Linked DNA regions of Homo sapiens: regions 1 and 2 are each linked to region 3. The links are contacts of gene promoters, found by promoter capture Hi-C in blood cells and fetal thymus (Javierre and others, 2016). All regions are on one chromosome and are shown on one strand. The core of a region is centred on a gene start or on the middle of the fragment in contact, and the rest is flanking DNA. Distances in the headings are between cores, read along the strand shown.

Region 1 (3,003 bases), core at 187-2,686, 410 kb before region 3:
ATATATACATACCTATAGATATAGACACATAGATTTGCATGGGGGTATTTCCAGAAGGATAAACATCAAAATGTCAATACAGGTTATCTCTTGAGTGTTTGGGAATTTTTTTCTTTACGCTTTCTTTTTTATATTTCTATGATTATTACATTTAAGTTATAAAATGGAAAAATAAATCTCCAAAACCAATAGCACTTTGAAGCTACAAGCCATAGCCCAAGACCTATTTTACTCTAAACACAGTATCCAATGGTGTCATGCATTTTTAAATAAATAAGGTAGATAATTCATAAAGTGACATTCAACAAGCACTTCTTGAGCACCTATTATGTTCTAGGCACTGTTACATAAATGACTTTACTTCAGTGTGCTTAGATTCCCCTTTCCATTCCTAAGTATGGTGTCAAGTGTATCCACTCTCCTTTGTCACAAGTATTTGAATTTGGATTTTAAGTCTCATTTCTAATTGTTTAATGCAGTTAAATCCCTACTAAAGGAATATCTGGCATCACACTACCAACCCTTGGCCTGCCTCAGTGATTTCAGGCTTTGCAAGGTCAAAGTAATTTGTCTCATCAATCACCACCTCTGTACTGGCCTACTCCTGAAAGTAGACAGCCTACTGACTCTGAGGTGCATTCTTAAGGTTGATTGCAAAGTGGGAGGACCAAATCTCAAAAACTGGGCCCCACTGGCCAACACTATCAAATACAAATTCTCCACTTGCTAAATATTCCTTCTGGTATCTTTCTCCCACTTTCCTTACTCCCTTCCTTTCTGGAACTCTGATTTGGCCTCCTTCTAACTCGCCTCTCTGCTGTAAGACCACTAGATGGTGCAGTTTTAGAACCCATTCTCACTGGATCTTCTCTCCTCTCTCTGGCTCTCCCGCCACAGATCACATGTCTAATCCAGCAAGAAAACACCTTGGGGCAGGAGTTTCCACTGCCAAGACAGCTATACCCAAAGGGGATGGCAATAGCAACAACCTCTGTTCAGTTTTGTGGTCCTCGTGCAGCTGGTTGTGTGTTCATCTGTTGACATTTGGAGGTGCGGTGGGGGATGTTAATCAGAGGAGCAGTACCTGAGAGAGGGCCTCTTTCTCACACACTGCGGAGAACCTCTGTGAACAAGGAAGAGGGTAACACTCTAGGTGGCGATGCACGGAGCCCCGTGGCCTGGTTGCTCGGCAGGGTGAGGAGAAGCTGTAACTGCCAGAGCCTGAGAATCGCCCCTTCTCAGGACATGGCGTACTCCCTGCGCTCGCCTGCACACTGCAGGGTCAGCTGACTGCCGTCCCTCCACTTACAACAGCGGGACGGCCACTCTCCCTGACGCACGCAGTGACCCGAACAAAGCCCGTGGGAATCATGGGGCGTTCCTGGAGGGTCGCCTAGACGACCCAGCCCAACCCCACCCACAGTGCCTGGCAACCTAGACCAGTCAGGGACGCGGCAGGAAATGGAAGAGCCTCCGCAAGAGGCTCTGGCTGAACCCTTGAAACATGAAAGCCCAGCCGCTCCCTCAAGTGCTGGCCACACTAAGGGCCAGGAAGAAGACGACCAGAAGAACCAGGCCGAAAGGAAGGCAGATAACCACACTGCTCACAGAATAGCTGACCAGACTGCCCTAAGAGTGCCTAGCCAGGCTGAATCCAGCATATTTAGCCAAGCTACCAACGGAGTAGCTGAACAAAATGGGCATAGTACACCTGGTCAGGCTGGCCGCAGAGCATCCAACCCTGCTGATGTTTCTGACCTTAGAGCAGATGATCAGGTTAATCAAACACCGTCTGAACAGACTAAAGGCAAGGCATCTAGCCAAGCTAATAATGTACAGCATGAACAGAGTGATGGTCAGGTGTCTGGCCTGACGGAGGAAAGAACTGCTGAACAGACTGAACGAAGATTACCTACCCAGGCTGAGAGAAGAACTTCTGGGCAGATTGATGGTAGACTGGCTATGCCATCTGACCAGAGAGGTTCCAGACAGACCGACCACAGAATGGCAGGCCAGTCTGAGAGAAGAGCTTCCGAGCAGATGGACCGCAGAATGTCTGGCGAGGCTGAGCGAAGAACTTCTGAGCAGATTACACACAGATTATCCAAACTATCTGAGAGAAGACCTTCTGTGCAGATTGACAGTGGGTCATCCGTCCCATCTGACCAAAGTCCTTCTGTACAGATTGACAGTGGATCGTCCGTACCATCTGACCAAAGACCTTCCGTACAGATTGACCGCAGAATGTCAGGGAAAGTTAGGAGAAGAAGTTCTGAGAAGACTGACTACAGATTGGCTGGCCTGGCTGACCCAGGAACTTCTGAGCAGACTGACCTCAGATTGTATGGCCTCGTTGACCACAAAACATCTGTAAAGACTCACCACCAAGTGTACGGCCAAGCCACTGAACTAGCTGAACACCAGGCTATTGACCAAGCTCATAGTAATGCTGATCAACCTCCAGTTGACAATGCTCACTACACTGAATCTGACCAGACTGACCACTTAGCAGACAGACAAGCTAATCATAAAGACCAGCTGTCTTACTATGAAACACGTGGCCAGTCTGAAGACAGAATATTTCCCCAGTTAGGCAACAGCAAAGAGGACAAAGAGGCTGACTACAGAGTACAACCCTGCAAATTTGAGGATAGCCAAGTAGACCTCAATTCCAAGCCTTCAGTTGAAATGGAAACTCAGAATGCAACCACTATCCCACCCTACAACCCAGTTGATGCCAGATTCACCAGTAACTTCCAAGCAAAAGACCAAGCTCTTTTCCCAAGACTCCCCTCCATCTCATCCAAATTGAACTATACCAGCAGTCAAGAAAAAACTCAAGCCATAGTAACCAAATCTGTAAGTTAAATGGGCATTTGATACCTACCTGGGAGATCAGAGATCTAGACGGGGCCTGGAGAGTAAAAATAGGGGTACAACGGAAGGGCACATGTTGCATCAAGGATAAAGAATAAACCCACATGTTGTGGTATGTGTGACCCA
Region 2 (2,864 bases), core at 328-2,827, 320 kb before region 3:
GAAAAATTATGGTAGGCTCTGTTTAGGCAGTCAGGATAGCTAGATTCTCTAATGCAGTCTCCCACTGCACTCACGGGAAAGTAGTAGATTCTCCAAGAACCACACATCCACTCCACCCAAAAAGGAACAAACCATAGCTAGAGCCAGTGCTGGGCTCATTAAGCTTCATAGCAGGAAATCTGAGGCTATACTGAGGCCGCATAGGCCCAATGTAGGCCCTTGGAAGCTGGAAAAGAGGGCCACCTAGTGGCAGTTGAGGATAGGTCAGTGAAATAGGTCAACACTGCTCCTGAACAAGGTCCAGTGTGAAACTTATTTTTTTGTGTTCCCTTTGTAACATGCTGTAAGGGTGTATAACCACATTTAGTGAAAAAGGACATTACTGGATTTCATCCAGTGGCGTTATACAATCAGTTACTTATACCCACATAGTCCCCAGGTCTTGAGCATATGATGCCTGGAAGCATAATATATACCTTTTGCAAGAATCACTCAGCTTTTCCCCTCCCCCTCCCCCTCTCTGTCTCCCTCCCCATCTCCCTCCCCCCTTTGCACGGTCCTCGTCTCCCCTTTGCATGGTCTCCCTCTGATGCCGAGCCGAGGCTGGACTGTACTGCCGCCATCTCGGCTCACGGCAGCCTCCCTGCCTGATTCCCCTGCCTCAGCCTGCCGAGTGCCTGGGATTGCAGGCGCGCACCGCCACACCTGACTGGTTTTCGTATTTTTTGGTGGAGACGGGGTTTCGCCGAGTTGGCCGGGCTGGTCTCCAGCTCCTGACCGCGAGTGGTCTGCCAGCCTCGGCCTCCCGAGGTGCCGGGATTGCAGACGGAGTCTCGCTCACTCAGTGCTCAATGTTGCCCAGGCTGGAGTGCAGTGGCTTGATCTCGGATCGCTACAACCTCCACCTCCCAGCCGCCTGCCTTGGCCTCCCAAAGTGCCGAGATTGCAGCCTCTGCCCTGCTGCCACGCCGTATAGGAAGTGAGGAGCGTCTCTGCCTGGCCGCCCATCATCTGGGATGTGGGGAGCCCCTCTGCCCAGCCGCCCAGTCTGGAAAGTGAGGAGCGCTTCTTCCCGGCCGCCACCCCGTCTAGGAAGTGAGGAGCGTCTCTGCCTGGCCGCCCATCATCTGGGATGTGGGGAGCGCCTCTGCCCCACCACCCCGTCTGAGAGGTGAAGAATGCCTCTGCCCGGCGGCGACCCGTCTAGGAACTGAGGAGTGTCTCTGCCCCGCCGCCACCCCGTCTGGGAGGTGAGGAGCGTCTCTGACTGGCCGCCCTGTCTGAGAAGTGAGGAGCCCCTCCGCCGGGCAGCTGCCTGGTCCGGGAGGTGGGGGGCAGCCGCCCAGCCAGCCGCCCCGCCCGGGAGGTGGGGGGGCAGCCCCCGCCTGGCCAGCCGCCCCGCCCGGCAAGTGGGGGGCAGCCCCCGCCCGGCCAGCCGCCCCGTCCGGGAGGTGGGGGGCGCCTCTGCCCAGCCGCCGCCCCGTCTGGGAGGTGGGGGCCCCTCTGCCCGGCCGCCGCCCCGTCTGGGAGGTGGGGGGCCCCTCTGCCCGGCAGCCCCGTCTGGGAAGTGAGGAGCCCCTCTGCCCGGCCACCACCCTGTCTGGGAGGTGTACCCAACAGCTCATTGAGAACGGGCCATGATGACGATGGCGGTTTTGTCCAATAGAAAAGGGGGAAATGTGGGGAAAAGAAAGAGAGATCAGATTGTTATTGTGTCTGTGTAGAAAGAAGTTGACATAGGAGACTCCATTTTGTTCTGTACTAGGAAAAATTCTTCTGCCTTGGGATGCTGTTAATCTATAACCTTACCCCCAACCCCCTGCTCTCTGAAACATGTGCTGTGTCCACTAAGGGTTAAATGGATTAAGGGCAGTGCAAGATGTGCTTTGTTAAACAGATGCTTGAAGGCAGCGTGCTCGCTAAGAGTCATCACCACTCCCTAATCTCAACTACCCAGGGACACAAACACTGCGGAAGGCGGCAGGGCCCTCTGCCTAGGAAAACCAGAGACCTTTGTTCACATGTTTATCTGCTGACCTTCCCTCCACTATTGTCCTATGACCCTGCCAAATCCCCCTCTCCGAGAAACACCCAAGAATGATCAATAAATACTAAAAAAAAAATAAATTTAAAAAAAAAAAAGAGAATGTAGGCCAACAATAAGCCACAGGATAACATCTCTGTCTGCCCAAATCACATTATGCTGAGGAAGTTTAATAATAAAGGAGAATAATAAAGGAGCCAAGCAAGTTAATCTAAAAAAAAAAAAAAAAAAGAATCACTCAGCTTTTCTATATTTGGTAGCTGGTAGGTTATTAATTGGAGAAGTTGGGTTATTGCTTTCAGTAAGTGTAGGAAAGCAAGTAGCAGTGATATCTACAAAATTAAAGATAGCTTTCCAATCTGCTTTTGAGGTTTTAGGGTGGCTTTCATTTCACAGAGAGGCATTGGCATTAATAAAATTGTTTCCTAGGGGTTTTTTTTTTGGCATCAGTCCAGAAACCCAACAGTTGCTCTAGTTTTTCTTGTTAGAGCATGAGCCTTAGCTAAAGCCATCTATAAATTATGGTCCCATGGATTTCCCAGCAGGAAATATGGAAAAAATAGAAAAAAAGATAAGATAGTCATGATAGCAGAGAAGTCTTGATCCATGATCTTGAGAAAGCTGTCCATGTCTAGGATGCCATCTGCTTCTGGGGAGAAACTTCCCTACCTTAAGATCTCCAACAGGTGTATAATTCCAAGAGTTTGAAGGGGCTCTTTTGAGTTACAAGGTATGGACCAAAACTCGAGGCCCTGAAGTTTTACTGTGGGTGGTGAGAGAAGTACATGATATAATCTCTTCTAATGGGATACAAGAGCAG
Region 3 (2,819 bases), core at 273-2,772:
ACCAGTTCCAAGAACCAACCACAGCCCTTCCATGAAAAGGCTTTCTACTTAATAGGTGGGGTGAAGATTTGGTTAGAAACAGGAGAGCTCTAAGGACCCTCCATATCTGTTAGCCAACCTGCAAAAGTTCAAATCCTCTTCTGAACATACCAAGAAACATAGAGCAGACAGTAAGGGTGTATTTTGTCCAAGGCAGGACCTAAGTTATGAAACAACTTCTTTCTTGACATATTAACATAAGAAAACAAGTATCTCAATTCTTTAAACCCTCTACTCAAATAATATATCATAAAGGGGTATGAGATCTCAATAACCAGAAAAGTCTATCCATAAAAAGGGAGGGAAAAAAAGACACTGCAGACGTTACTTATCAAAATTATGTACTCCAGGGCCAGGCGTGGTGGCTCACGCCTGTAATCCCAGCACTTTGGGAGGCTGAGGTGGGCGGATTACTTGAGGCCAGGAGTTCCAGACCAGCCTGGCCAACATGGCAAAACCCCATTTCTACCAAAAATACAAAAATTAGCCAGGTGTGGTGGTGGGTGCCTGTAATCCCAGCCACTTGGGAGGCTGAGGCACGAGAATTGCTTGAATCCAGGAGGTGGAGGCTGCAGTGAGCCAAGATGATTGCAACACTGCACTCCAGCCTAGGCGACAGAGTGAGACTCCATCTCAAAAAAAAAAAAAAAAAAAATTATGTACTGTCATGTGAGGTGGCTAGGGATTAATTTTTCCAGTAAATATGTCAAAATTGAGAAATGAAAATAAACACTGTGCTCCACTGTCACCCCTTCAGGCTGCTACCAGGACACAGCCCCGTGCTGCTCAGAGAATGCTTGAGTGTCCTCTTTGGAGACCACCCTAGAGCTAGAGTTCCAGCCACGCCATATTGTTTTATTAGCCATCATCCATTTTAGACAGGATTAGTTAAAAGAGACTTATTCACCAGAATTTGTTTTTCTTAAGATAGAATCTTGCTCTGTCACACAGGCTAGAGTGCAGTGGCGTGACCATAGCTCACCACAGTCTCAACCTCCCGAGCTCAAGCGATTTTCCCACTTTCACTAGAATTTTACTGGCTTGAGAAATTCAAATACGGCCCACAAAAACAATATTTGCTAGGATCTAGGATATTTTAAAATAATGGGCCACAATTCTCACTATGATGCTCCAAATATGTCGGGAAGCCACAGCCTCCTGTGGGAATGAGACCCTAAGGGTTCCTTTGAGGGCAAGCCTGGATCCAGGAGGTGGTAGCAGAGGTATTGTTTGTTTAAAAAGCAGTGAGGTTGCTGGTAACTAGTTCTACCAAGCTATCCCATAGTAAGATAATAGTAAATGTACTTACTTGCTGAAGAAAAATTCCACTTTTTCTTTAAATCCTTTGATTTCAGGGTAAGACTCCACTTCTGAGATGTTCTCTTCTTACAGTCTATAAAGCAATGACAAATCACTTTTTCTTTGGGTAATCTTCAGAGAGGCGACATTTCCCCTTCTAACTTCTGTTACTTTACAGAGGGTTTGAGTTCACTCAGTACTTGTCAGTGCCAGGAGTTGGACAGGGTGTTTGAAGAAGCGCCCTCTGCTGCCGTCTTCTTCTAGTTGCTTTTGTAGAGGCTGTGGCTGGGGCAAATCACACAGCAGCCTCCCTCACCACCGTGCATGGACTAACAAACATGAAACACCACGAGCACCAGGCGGCCTAGGGGAGGAGAAGAATGGTGCCCGAGAAGAGTGAGGGGCATCTGGCTAGCCTTGCTGTGTGATGGGAGGCCAGCTTCATGGGCTGGCTGTTTCTGTGCTGGTCTCAAGTTTTGTTTTAGCACCCAGAGTTACTCCTGAGTCCCTGCAGGAATAAGCTGTCAACCTCATATGTAGGGGACACTTTTGGGAGAGTGCTCAGCTCACAGGACCACCCAACTCTACTCCCACCTCTGAATCCCACCATCTTCAGAGAGTGGGCTCCTGCCAGCCACGCTGGACAGTGAATTCTGGTCACCCTAGCCACAGTTGAGTGCGCCTCTGGTGGGATGAGGAAGACTTTAGTCATGCCCATCACTCCCATTTCCAACTAGGTTGCCACCCACCCCTGTGTGTCCCTTTGTAGGATTCTGGAGCCCCTGTGAGTGAGCAGCTGACCCATGCTGGACCAGTGTACTTGTTTGCACAGGTGGAACCTGACAGCACCTTGCATGGGTTGCAGTGAGCCGAGATCACAACACTACAATCCAGCTTGGGTAACAGAGCAAGACTCCATCTCAAAAAAAAAAAAAAAAAAAAGACGCCATCCTTCCCACACCAGCCAGAAAGAGAGCAAACCGTGTGGGTGAGAAATACTGACTACAGCGGCGGCTTCCTTCATCTCAGCAACAAGTTTGTGGCAGAGCTTAGTGGATACCACCCTATTCACCTGAGATTTGGAATACTGAAGCTTTGGAAATCATGAAGGCAGAACTTGCTATGAAAGGACTCCACTGCACTGTCTCCTTCTGTATTGGCAGAAGGGGCCTAGTGAGCACCCTTCTTCACCTGTGTCTTGTTCTGGTCTCAGATGCATATTTTGAATAGTTGCAAGGAATATGGATGTGACAATTCCTGCCTTACCTCTAGTAGATCAACATTACATTTTCAAGTAAAGGGAACATAGATTGGAGGTAAGTTCATGTTTTCTATTTTCTTGAACATTTATTCAGATCAAAGAAATGTTTTCACTGATTTTAGCCACTTCTACTTGATACATTATTACAATGCACTGGAAGTGATTTTTTTTCCAGGTATTTAAAGTAATAGAAAGTTATAGATGTCAACTTAAAAGAGCA

Evidence for each region. The method cuts DNA at HindIII sites, captures the fragments that hold promoters and counts their contacts. A CHiCAGO score of 5 or more calls a contact.
Region 1: the fragment with the promoter of TEX55 here is called in contact with the fragment with the promoter of CD80 in region 3 in 7 of 17 cell types (naive CD8 T cells, activated CD4 T cells, erythroblasts and 4 more); the score reaches 12.7 in naive CD8 T cells.
Region 2: a contact is called between a fragment that was not itself captured here and the fragment with the promoter of CD80 in region 3, in 2 of 17 cell types (total B cells and megakaryocytes). The highest score is 6.9, in total B cells.

Annotation. Positions count from the first base shown.
Region 1 is chr3:119,144,729-119,147,731 of GRCh38, forward strand. It overlaps TEX55 (testis expressed 55), which reads left to right and starts at 1,437. Exons shown (of 3, transcript NM_152539.3): 1 at 1,437-2,859. The coding sequence starts at 1,462. It also overlaps a transcript of IGSF11 not described here. RefSeq lists a silencer at 694-988. The HindIII fragment of the contact is 11,642 bases long and covers 1-3,003 here.
Region 2 is chr3:119,241,420-119,244,283 of GRCh38, forward strand. All of the region lies in intron 3 of B4GALT4-AS1 (B4GALT4 antisense RNA 1), which reads left to right. Among named protein-coding and RNA genes, the nearest start is that of B4GALT4, 2.0 kb to the left of the region's middle. RefSeq lists a silencer at 276-325. The HindIII fragment of the contact is 2,833 bases long and covers 162-2,864 here.
Region 3 is chr3:119,558,092-119,560,910 of GRCh38, forward strand. CD80 (CD80 molecule) reads right to left here and starts at 1,523. Exons shown (of 7, transcript NM_005191.4): 1 at 1,349-1,523. It overlaps LOC107986118 (a long non-coding RNA gene), which reads left to right and starts at 2,339. Exons shown (of 2, transcript XR_001740861.2): 1 at 2,339-2,654. RefSeq lists a silencer at 1-125 and enhancers at 1-125, 487-646, 917-976, 1,747-1,796. The HindIII fragment of the contact is 26,007 bases long and covers 1-2,429 here.